Linked DNA regions of Homo sapiens: region 1 is linked to region 2. Evidence: promoter capture Hi-C in 16 types of primary human blood cells and fetal thymus (Javierre and others, 2016). All regions are on one chromosome and are shown on one strand. Each heading gives the region's core, a stretch centred on a gene start or on the middle of the fragment in contact. The rest is flanking DNA. Distances are from core to core; before and after follow the strand shown.

Region 1 (2,700 bases), core at 9-2,508, 260 kb after region 2:
ATGGCCTGGGAAAAGCTGGGGAAAGGGCTTTGCTTGTGTGCAGTGTTAAAGGGGAACAGTGGGCCACTCACCATCAGCTCAACTAAGAATGATTAGAAACAGAAGCACCAAGGTGCCTGCACCATCACTATCTCCCCTTCCTCCCCAGCCCTGGCTTTCCTGTCTGATAGATACTCTCAAAGGGGTTAGGATCCTCCCAAGCCTTGCCCCACCCCACCACACAGAAGATAGGTTCAAGTCAAGCCAACAAACAGCTATGAAGCTCTGGAGGGATGCAAAGTCATCCACATCTGATGACAAGTACACACACAATCTTAACAGGAAACAGAAGGTGGTTAGTGCTGAAATTGAGAACACATTCCATATTCTGGGGTTCAAATGAACTATGGGGGGATGGCAATAGTGTGGGAGGCCCCAAAGTCAGCACCTCCCAGTACATGTTTAGTGCCCCCAACTCCCCACCCCCCATGCTGGGGCTGGGAGCAGGAGTTCAGCTGCGGAGTTCCCAACACATTTATCACATCTATCACAGGCTAATTCTCTCTGCCCGGTCCCTATGTTCCTTCATCCCTCATCACTTTGCCATGCCCTTCCTTCCCCTCTCCGTGCTCCCCATCTGGCCCCAGTCTCATCTCCACCTGGCCCCATTGTCCTCCCCAGTTCCAGTCCCGGCAGCAGCTTCTATTTACCCATCAAGTCCTCACCCCCAAATCCACTTCTGGTCTCAAAGTTCCAGGGTCCAAGGATCAGGGGAGCAGCAATTCCAAGCCTGCAGGACAGGACTTCCCACCCCACTTCTGCCAGCCCTAACCCAACTGAGGATAGATAGGCACAAAGAGTCGAAGGGGAGGAGTGGAGAAGAGGGACACGCGGAGACAGGGAGAGACACAGCGCACAAGGGAGAGAACTAGAGGGAGGCTCTAGGAAGGGGCTTGAGCCAGAGAATGGGAGGGACACGCCCATCCCTCCCCGCCCATGGTTTCCCCTTTACCTAGAAGGACCCTGTCAGGGGATCCAAGCCGGCAGGACAAGGGGCAGCGTTGACAGCCCCAGTCTCCTCTGGGTGCTCAAGGCTCATCCGTCTGCAAAGTTAGTGACCAGCTTTCTAGACTCTCAGGGGTAGCGTGGCATGGCTGTACAGGCTCCAGGGCAGATAAGAGGGGTACACATTGTGGGGGTGTAGGGCCCAGGTGGAAGTGGTGGGCTTGGCCAGGTACTGGGGCCAGCCACACTCACACACACACCCTCAGACACACACACCTGAGCTGGCCCAGCCCTATGTATATATATGGAGATACACACACACACCCCCAGCTCTCCATTGGCTGGCCCAGGCCCACCCCCCCCTCATCAATATTAAACAGCCAGGCCAGGCAGCCATTGGCAGAGGGATCTGGGAACCCCTCGGGAGCTGGGGGCGGGGGCTGGCCCTGGGTGGGGGCGGGGAGCGGGGGAGCAGGGACATCTGTTCTCCATGCATATTTCATAAGCAAGAAATGGAGAGCTGGGGAAGGGGTGGGGCTGGGGCGAGAGCCAGGGCAGGACCACAGATGAACCCCCTCAGTCTCCCACACCAGAGGCAGCAGGGCAGAGGCTCCCAGCAAGCTATGGTTAAGTGCCATGGCCCCATTCGGAGTCCCAGCGTGACTTGGACAGCCCCTTCCTGGTGTCTCTTTTTTCCTGAGAGGGAGACTCTTCAAGGTACTAACAGGGAAACCGAGAAAAGAGCAAGTGGGTAGCACTAAAATGCAGAAGAGGACCCTAGGGTCCTGGCCCTCAAGCTCTTATCCTTCATAAAGCTGGTACCCACTGCTTGCCAGCCTGCCTGTAGCAACTGTTCAGGCCCCTACCCTCATCACCCTGGGACTCAATCACCCCCATACCCTCTTACCCCACCCGCTATCTTCCTACCTAACCCATCACCAAGGGGAGGAGCAGGATCAAATTTGGGACACAGACCCCACAAGGAGTTTTTCTAGGCTGGCCAGCCCAACCTGACCCACTGGGAATTAGAGGGCTCTTAGGAAGAAAGAGGTAAGGGCTAAAAGGAGAGGAGTGGAGGAGTGCCAAGACAGGAAGAACCAGGATTGGAAGGACACTGGGAGAGGAGGGCAGGGCAGCCTAGGCAGGCTCTGAGTGTGTTTTGAGGGCATCAAATCAGCAATAAGAAAACCAGACACAAAATTATATGCAAATGGGCACTGATTAAGCTCCCATCAATAGCTCAGCAGCCTCCAGCATGTATATGCAAGTGTGTGTGAATGTGAATGTAAGTGTGAGTGTGTGTGTGTATGTGTGTGTTGCCGAGTGGCAGGATTGAGGAGGGGCAGCACAGGGACCAGAGTGCATAGAGAGACAGTGCATAGAGGGTTTCAGTGTCTGAAGTTCTCTCCCCACTCAGCTGTTGGATGTCTTCTCTGAACCTTTGAGAGTATTCAAAAGAACCATGACTGGAGAGGACTCCAGAGGTAGTGTGGTACAGTGAAAAAGGCTCTGTCAGCTGTGTGACCTTGGACAAATAACAACCTTTTGAGCCTGGACCTCTTTTCCTGTAAAATGGGGTTGATTATAGCTGCTTCTTAGGTTGCCATGGAAATTAAGGGAGATAATATGTGTAGTGGGCCTAGAGCTTAGTAGGAGCACATCCCACCTTCAGGCTGGAGGGACTTGCCATTTCCCTGTTGCTGGTCAACCTTTTCT
Region 2 (2,700 bases), core at 165-2,664:
TTTATACAAATTCAGAACTCTCTGCCTGCCTCCTAACTTTTTTTTTTAATCAGAGCATAAGACTGTTGAAGTTGGTATCTGGCAAAATTAAAACATTTAATTTAGGGGATAGAACCTATAACCAAGGTGTTTGCAAAGTCAGTTCAGTGAGATTCCTTGGGCTAACTTGATGTGTGAAAGGCCTAAGGAGAAAAAGAATCTTTTCAAATCCAGAAGGCAACTTCTTGCCAGCTATCAGGCTGGAGGCCCCTTTGGATCTTGTAGGCTGCATTTTATGAATTCATTGAGACTGTCTGTATCTTTGGTCAACTCTGTAAACATCTGATTGTGTCCACCATGATTCTTTCCTTTGGAACCCGACTATTTTTCTTTCAATTTCTGCCCCACAAATTCCTCACAGGTTCAACAACAAGCAGGCTTATTCCACAATCATCCTTATAAGTTTCCCTTACACATTAATGTTAACATCTGGTGTTACTCTATTTAGAACCTTAGTGCGAATATTCTACTTAGAACCCTAGGGCTTCAGCTCGGTCCCCACTGTTCATTACCCCGGTATAACTTTTTCCAAGCCCATAAGTCTCTCTAACTCTCCAAGAAGTCTGTCTTTAGTATTCAGCCACATTTCTACTACTAAACCAAGCTCTAGTTCTTGAGGTTCTCCAGGCTGTTTTCCTTCTCCATAAAATGAGAATAATGAGTGTACCTACCTTGTAAGATTATTGTGAGGATTAAATATGTTAGTACACATGATGCACTAAAAATATGTGGCCCATTGCAAGTGCTCAATAATTGTTCATTATAATCTTATTGAGCTACATGTCTTGTTTACTGGGGGTGATAATTCTCATTCACTGTTTGTCAAAGTGTTGCTCCTAGTTCAAAAGGATTTGATAAAGTGGGTAAAGGAGAGAAAACAATAAAAGTTTTCTCTCTGATTTTGAGCCTTGATGATTAGTTCTCGGGCTAATTTTAAACATGAAGATGATTTAGAGGAAAGACTAAATACTTTCCTTTCAGTTCAGGTCTGCTGGGTTCAACCCAGTTATTTGCATGAAAGGACAACAATAGCACTATTATGTTTATTTTTAAAAAAGATAAGTAGATCTTTCTTCCTCCCAGTGTCTCATGAGAATAGCGTGAATTCACAGGGACGGCACATGGAACCATTATATTCTCTTTACCCAAAATGGATACAGGACACATTAGCAATCTTAAGATGGAGAAACTGGGCAGAGAGATTGACTTAGGAGAGATGAAGATAATTTAATGTTAGACATGTGGTAGTTGAGTTAAAAATAAAGCATTTGGATAGAAAAATCTTCATGAAATTAAGAATGTGAAAGTATAGTGAGAGAAATTAGAATAAGAAAACAGATACAAAAATTTTCAGTGGTCTAAAGCTGACCTCTAAAACCATGAAAACAAACGTCTCCCTTGGGAGAGAATGCAGAAATAGAACATGAGGCTCCATTATCCCACTTTCATGTAAGATGTTTTTAAGCTCAGAATACTTTTGAGATTGCTCTTTGACTTCTTTTTTTTTCCAGAAACAAAACCATGGGCAGTGTATGCTGGGCTGTTAGGGGGTGTCATCATGATTCTCATCATGGTGGTAATACTACAGTTGAGAAGAAGAGGTAGGTGTCTGGCAATAAATAGATTCTTATCACACTCTCTGTGGTAAGCAGGGGACCTCTCTCCACAGGCTCGGACTTGCTCTCACAACTCTGGCTTTCTGCATGGGGCCACCTTTGCAAAAATAGTAGATAAACATATCCTGGGACCTTGCTTAATTCAGTCTAATTCAACATGTCTTGATCCCCTCTACTAGGCTGTGGAAAGAAATAGAAGAGCCACAGGTTTCTAATGTGAGAGACATTATTCAGATAATTTCAGTTTAGTGTGACTAGCACTGCCATCAGGGTAAACACAGGATGCTGAAGAAGTGAACAAGAGGTTTAAGAGTATTCACTGGGAACAGAATTCAGAAAATTATTGGATCTCATCCAAAAAGTCACCAGGGTTAGAATGAAACCAATAAGGCACAATTATTCCCCTGCAGTTGAAGTGCCTAGAGGTACCATCCCCTGTCCTCTCTTCCAAATTTCCCTATGATACAATATCTCAGGGCATTGTGCTCCCCTCAGCCACCTTGACTACTACCAACCAATACTGGAGTCAAAATGTCCTGACCCAAGACCAGGAGAGATGCCCCGGCTGCCTTCCCATGGTAAGGATAGAACTTGATCCTCATAACACTGAGCTGATGACTGATTTCATTCTCAAGTAGATCAGTGTCATCTACACACAACCTTCTTAGAAAAGCCCTTACCTCAGCACTCTGATGTTGGTTTTGCATATATAAAAAAATCTAGATCATAGCACAGCGACCTACTTGTGTCTCATTTCCTCCATCTAAGAGTTAGCCAGGTAGGAGGGATGGGTGATTCAGATAGAAATTAGGTTGACAGCCTATGGGGCTCGGGGTAGGGCAATCACATTTAGCTCATACTATAAGGAAATAGTGAGATGACCCAGGATGAGAAAACTGAACTTAACTTATCCACATTAACCTACCTAGTAAAATTGCTGGGATCCTACGCCATACTCTTTCCTCAACCACACTTGGCTTATCACATGGTTGTGCTCTAAGGGAATAGTGCTCCCCATCCCACAATTCCCCACTACCTTCCCCAA

The links. Contacts are between HindIII fragments. The CHiCAGO score rates a contact against its expected background, and 5 or more counts as called.
Region 1: the fragment with the promoter of NHLH1 here is called in contact with a fragment that was not itself captured in region 2 in 3 of 17 cell types (naive B cells, total B cells and megakaryocytes); the score reaches 8.0 in naive B cells.

Annotation. Positions count from the first base shown.
Region 1 is chr1:160,365,629-160,368,328 of GRCh38, reverse strand. NHLH1 (nescient helix-loop-helix 1) reads right to left here and starts at 1,258. Exons shown (of 2, transcript NM_005598.4): 1 at 992-1,258. The HindIII fragment of the contact is 14,453 bases long and covers 1-2,700 here.
Region 2 is chr1:160,623,036-160,625,735 of GRCh38, reverse strand. SLAMF1 (signaling lymphocytic activation molecule family member 1) reads left to right here. Exons shown (of 7, transcript NM_003037.5): 4 at 1,551-1,640. Among named protein-coding and RNA genes, the nearest start is that of SLAMF1, 23 kb to the left of the region's middle. RefSeq lists an enhancer at 862-991. The HindIII fragment of the contact is 4,206 bases long and covers 1-2,700 here.